2 separate regions of the Homo sapiens genome follow, and region 1 is linked to region 2. The links are contacts of gene promoters, found by promoter capture Hi-C in blood cells and fetal thymus (Javierre and others, 2016). All regions are on one chromosome and are shown on one strand. Each heading gives the region's core, a stretch centred on a gene start or on the middle of the fragment in contact. The rest is flanking DNA. Distances are from core to core; before and after follow the strand shown.

Evidence for each region. Contacts are between HindIII fragments. The CHiCAGO score rates a contact against its expected background, and 5 or more counts as called.
Region 1: a contact is called between a fragment that was not itself captured here and the fragment with the promoter of EIF4EBP3 in region 2, in 1 of 17 cell types (monocytes). The highest score is 5.3, in monocytes.

What each region holds. Positions count from the first base shown.
Region 1 is chr5:138,340,409-138,343,600 of GRCh38, forward strand. It overlaps FAM53C (family with sequence similarity 53 member C), which reads left to right. Exons shown (of 5, transcript NM_016605.3): 2 at 776-1,005; 3 at 1,401-1,458. The coding sequence starts at 928. Among named protein-coding and RNA genes, the nearest start is that of FAM53C, 3.7 kb to the left of the region's middle. The HindIII fragment of the contact is 5,325 bases long and covers 1-3,192 here.
Region 2 is chr5:140,546,205-140,549,056 of GRCh38, forward strand. It overlaps EIF4EBP3 (eukaryotic translation initiation factor 4E binding protein 3), which reads left to right and starts at 1,458. Exons shown (of 3, transcript NM_003732.3): 1 at 1,458-1,636; 2 at 2,702-2,852. The coding sequence starts at 1,534. It overlaps ANKHD1-EIF4EBP3 (ANKHD1-EIF4EBP3 readthrough), which reads left to right. Exons shown (of 36, transcript NM_020690.6): 35 at 2,702-2,852. RefSeq lists enhancers at 405-1,113, 1,114-1,820, 1,581-1,670, 1,821-2,528. The HindIII fragment of the contact is 7,257 bases long and covers 1-2,852 here.

The DNA.
Region 1 (3,192 bases), core at 681-3,180, 2.2 Mb before region 2:
CAAGGCCCCTCAGGTAATTGTGTGGGCTTGAAGCCTGTTATCTGATACAGTTAGTTTGCTTCTATCAGAAGTTGACCACGAGAAAGAATCTTGGTTAACTGTATCCATGGACTTTGCATCAGATGAGGCTAAAAACTTAGTTGAACAGTCATGGAGTTGTTGTTTACGACGTCTGTAGAGTTGAAATGTATTGGAATTACCCTGACCATTTCTTTATCTTCCCATTTGATAAGAAAACAAACACTGTATCTATTGGAAAACAATAATATATCAGATGTTTAGGCTGTGGGAGGACATAAAATCCTATGTACTCAGGTCTAAAGCAGAAAGTCTTGCCTACAACCACTGTTCTTCCTTGTTCTCTTATTACTATTTCTGTAGTTTAGGAGAAGGGTACCTCTTTTCACTTCTGACTGGAAGATAAAATACTGGGCTGATCTTGATGGAAATAATCATTTGGGCATCCCTCTCTCTCACTTGAGCAGCTGTTTTCTAAGTGGTGCTGGTATTCCAGTTAGAAACAACAGAGCATGAACCAGTTTAAGGGTAGCAAATAAGTTTCAACTTGATTGCCAACTCTATTTTATTTCATATCTGGACTGCCAAGTTCATAATTTCTGAAGCTGTGTTTAGGCTTAGCTGGAAAGAGCTGTGATCAATTGATGTCTGCCAGAGGCCTGGCTTAGGGGTGCTGTGGTATGTGTGCCATGCATTTTCCATCTCTGGACCAGGTGCATCTCTAATATCACTTGGGGCTGGTCCCTCTAATTGGCAGACTCAGCAGGCATGACTGGAGAGGGAAGTCCCAATGGTGCTAGAATGGTGCTGCAGTGGCAGAAGACGGCTCACAAGTGAGGTCTGGAAGAACAACAGGGAAGACATCCATCATTTGCTCCAAAGTGTGCAAGTCAAATCCTGGGGAGAATCATGATAACCCTGATCACTGAGCAGCTACAGAAGCAGACTCTGGATGAGCTGAAATGCACACGCTTCAGCATCAGTCTGGTAAAAGACCAGTCTTCCTGCTTCTCCACGACCCCCTCCCCCTTTTTTCTGAGGCTGATTGTTGCTATTACTTTACTCTTGTCCTGTGCTGTATGAATCATGGTACTTAACCTGGAAGAGCCCACTAATGGCTCAAAACCCAGCCCAAAAGGAAGGGGGCAGGGATTTTTCCACCGATAGAGAAGGGACAGCAAAACTTGGGTGGAGAAGGGTTTGAGATGTTGGAAGATGTGGATTGTTTGACTTACTAACTTTGGGAAGACAAGAGGAAGAACACTTAATGTCCCTAACATCCCTGTAGCTCATGAATCGCAGAGGAGAACTGAAGAGGGCTTCCTAGAAATCTGTCAGTGTGTCCTGAATCCAAATCATGATGGATATTCTCTCTTTCTTAGCCTTTGCCTGATCATGCAGACATCTCCAACTGTGGGAACTCTTTCCAGCTTGTGTCTGGTAAGGCATCGTGTGTGTTTGTGTACGTGTGTGTACCCATTCCTCTCTCCACACATTTCTATCATTGGTTTCCAGTGACCAGGGCTAGCGAGCCTACCTCTAGAACCTTCTTGCCAGGGTCAACTTCTGAGATTGACAGTTGTCTTTCATGTTCTAGCATGAAAGTTATCTGGTTGGTTTGCTCTTATTCTAGCTTTGTGGGGACTTGTATAATCTAATTTTTTGAATAGGTAATACATTCACATGGTTCAAAATTTAAAAAATAACAACAAAAAGGTTATGCTGAGAAAAGTCTCTCTTACTCTCCCGTTCCCTATCTACCCAGCTTCTACCACCTCCCTAAAAGTATTAGTTTCTTATACAGTATATGTGACTAGAATTTCTTTATATAAAAAGAAGCAAATGTATATATTTATTTCCTTTCTTTTTTAAGTTCTCGGATACATGTGCAGAACGTGCAGGTTCGTTACATAGGTGTACATGTGCCATGGTGGTTAGCTGCATCTATTTTATTTCCACGTTTTTAACACAAAAGGTTGCATACTATATATTATTTTGTACCTTTAAAAAAAAAAATGGGACCGGGCCTAGTGGGTCACACCTATAATCCCAGCACTTTGGGAGGCCAAGGTGGGCAGATCACCTGAGGTCGGGAGTTCAAGACCAGCCTGACCAACATGGAGAAACCCCATCTCTACTAAAAATATAAAATTAGCCAGGCGTCGTGGCGCATGCCTGTAATCCCAGCTACTCGGGAGGCTGAGGCAGGAGAATCACTTGAACCCAGGAGGTAGAGGTTGCGGTGAGCCAAGATTGCGCCATTGCACTCTAGCCTGGGCAACAAGAGCAAAACTCTGTCTCAAAAAAAAAAAAAAATTGCTGGGCACAGTGGCTCATGCCTGTAATCCTAGCACTTTGGGAGGCCGAGGTGGGCGGATCATGAGGTCAGGAGTTCGAGACCAGCCTGGCCAACACAGTGAAACCCTGTCTCTACTAAAAATACAAAAATTAGCCTGGCATGGTGGTACACACCTGTAATCCCAGCTACTCGGGAGGGCAAGGCAGGAGAATCACTTGAACCCAGGAGGTGGAGGTTGTGGTGAGCCCAGATCATGCCACTGCACTCCAGCCTGCACAACAAAGCAAGACTCCATCTCAAAAAAAAAAAAAACAAAAAACAAAAAAAACTTTAATATAGCTAGGAGATCTTTCCCTATCAGAATGCTGAGTATTCATTCCCTTGTTATATATAGCTACATATTATTACACTGCATAGATGTACAGTGGCTTATTTAATGAGTTTTCTATTGATGTGCATTTAGGTTATTTCTAATCTTGTTTGGATACATAAAACTGTAGTGGGCCAGACGTGGTGACTCATGCCTGTAATCCCAGCACTTTGGGAGGCCGAGGTGGGCAGATAGCATGAAGCCAGGAGTTCGAGACCAGCCTGGCCAGCATGGTGAAACCCCGTCTCTATTAAAAATACAAAAATTAGCTGGGCATGGTGGCAGGCGCCTGTAATCCCAGCTACTCAGGAGGCTGAGGCAGGAGAATCCCTGGAATCCAGGAGGCGGAGGTTGCAGTGAGCCGAGATCGCACCCACTGCACTCCAGCTTGGGCAACAGAGCGAGATTCCATCTCAAAAAAAAAAAAAAGAAAGAAAAAAGAAACTGTAGTGAATAACCTTGTACATATGTCATTTTTTCACATGTGAAAATATATCTGAGGTAT
Region 2 (2,852 bases), core at 208-2,707:
CCTGGGCAACATGGTGAAACCTTGTCTCTATAAAAAATCCAAAAATTAGCCCGGTGTGGTGGTGGGCACCTGTGGTCCCAGCTACTCAGGAGGCTGAGGTGGGAGGATGGCCTGAACCCAGGAGGCAGAGTTTGCATTGAGCTGAGATTACACCACTGCATTCCAGCCTAGGCAGCAGAGCAAAACCCTATCTCAGAAAATAAATAGTTTGAGAAGCAATCTTTTTTTAAATGAGTGAAGAAATCAGACCTAAGGAGAAATCTGATGAAGCCAGAGCTGAGTTAATATTGATAAATGGATGCAGTCAGGTGGTCTATACTTAATTTTTGGTGAGGGGAAGGGACAGTGGAGGCAGTATTGATTTTGAGGAAGCCAAACAGGACAGCCTGATGAATTCAAGATTTCCAGCATATATACATCTTCACCAATCCCACCACCTTGCTCCAGCCTGTCATATCACTGTGTCTACATAAAAAAAAAAAACAAAAAAAAAACTCCAAGGCCAAACTCTCTGACCTTTCTTTCCTTCTAAAGACCAAGCCCTCCTCACTAGCCCCCTGCCCCTCCTTAGTTAACTGGCAAAGAGATCAAAGGGCAGGCCTTCTGACTGGTGATGCCTCAGCTGTAGCCCCCAAACTTGACTCATCCTTTTATTAGTCCAGGTACCACTTCTTCAGAAAGATGACCAGCCCTCACTGACCTTCCCCTTCCTGCTGTGCTCCAGGCCATCAAGGCATGTGTCACCCAGGCTGGAGTGCAGTGGTGCAATCTCCGCTCACTGCAACCTCCGCCTCCTGGGTTCAACCTATCCTTCCACCTCAGCTTCCCGAGTAGCTGGGTCTACAGGCGCATGCTGCCGCACCCGGCTAATTTTTGTATTTTTAGTAGAGTCTAGGTTTCACCATGTTGCCCAGGCTGGTCTCAGACTCCTGGGCTCAAGCTATCCACCCGCCTTAGCCTCCCAAAGTGCTGGGATTACAGGCCGTGAGCCACCGCACCCGGCCTTGTACTGTTACTGTTTATGGGAGGCAGTACACAGCTGGGCTTAAGGGCACAGTCCTGGAATCAGATGCAGTCAGATTTGAATCCCAGCTTCCCTTCCTGCAAGATGTGTGACTTTGGCTAATCATAGTGCTTTACTATCCAAAAGTTGGCAAGGAATGGGTGAACTAATACAGGATAAAAACGCTTGCCCTACTTCACCTGCCCCCAGCTCCCGGCTATAAACAGTAAATAGCTGAGCTGCTGCAGCACTCAGGCAGGTTGGCCAGCGCTGGGCCAGCAGGAACTGGAAGCTGGTGTGGGGCCTGGGACTTTGGACGCATTTCCAGCTTTCTCTGAACCGGGCTGGCTTCCTAGCAGATAGGGCGGGACCGTCGGGTTGAGTGACGGCCGGTGGCCCGCCCTGGGCGTGACGTTGTTCTAGTGTTGTTGCCAGCAGCTGCACGTGGTCGGCTGAGTCCGCCTCAGACTCAGAGCTGCGCTCCTCGACCTCAACGCCAGGCGGTTACTTTGCTGCTCCTCCCGCTCGCTATGTCAACGTCCACTAGCTGCCCGATTCCCGGGGGCCGGGACCAGCTGCCCGACTGCTACAGCACCACGCCGGGGGGCACGCTATACGCCACTACCCCCGGAGGTCAGCGGGCCGGGCAGGGGTCCGCAGGCTGCGGACATATTAGCGCGTGCGTGTTGTTGCGGGGCGGGGGTAGGGGAGGGACAGACCTAAGACTTGTCCGCAGGCCCCTCTACAGGTTGTAGCTTTGGGGGAGAATGTTTGGAGCGGAAGCTCAGTTCCCAAAAACTTCTAAGTGATGCAACAAGGCCATGAGCCTAGCTTCCGGGTGTTTGGGCTGTAATCCTTCACTGTGGCCTGGGTTCTTGGAGCCTTACACACGCTCCTTACCCCTCGCGACTTTGCTTCCTAGGAATAGGGGCCAGGGCCCCCTACTGAGCGTGACCTCAGCCGGAAGCACCGGGTCTTGAGAAGTGGAGTAGTTAGAACAGTTGGGGCAGTTGCTCCGTTTTTGTGCTGCTGGCTGGCGTCTGTTTGGTTGGGCGAGCAGCCTGGGATCACGAGCTGCTGGGCTCCCGACCCAGGGATTCCTGCCACGCGGAAGCGGAGGGGAGGAACAGGGCAGGACCCTTTGAGGACATTATGCGGGCCAAGTTCCTCTGAGCTAGTGTGAACCTTATAGGACCTGGGAGGGGTCAGGATTAGAACAGTACGTTTCTCCTCCCTGCAGGAGATAGCCCAGGTAACAGCACTGGGTGGAACCCTTCACAACTGCTATTTCACTTCTTGAACCACCTGAGGCTGTTAGTCTAGGTCTCACCTTCACTGGTGAGACCAAAGCAGAGGTTTCAGAGTGGTAGAGGAGCAGCATGAAGTACCTGAACTCAAAGTTTGGTGTTCCTCTTAGAGCCAAGATCTGAAGCTCTCCCAAACATAAAGCCCCTGCCTATACCAGCTGGGATGCCCCCCTTGCTTTATACCCACATCTTGGTTAGGTCTGGAAGATTTTAAGCACTATGAAGGCTTGTCTGCTGAGAACCTAGCTGGGCTTCAGAGCCGATGTCCTTTGATACACAGGGAAATTTGACACCACCCTCACCTCCAGGCCCCAAAAGGCCTGAGTCTGGGACCCCAGTCACCTCGGTACCCAAGCTCCTGACTCTTACCTCAGTCCCAACCCCTTGACAGGCACCAGGATCATCTACGACCGAAAGTTCCTGCTGGAGTGCAAGAACTCACCCATTGCCCGGACACCCCCCTGCTGCCTCCCTCAGATTCCCGGGGTCACAACTCCTCCAACAGCCCCTCTCTCCAAGCTGGAGGAGCTGAAGGAGCAGGA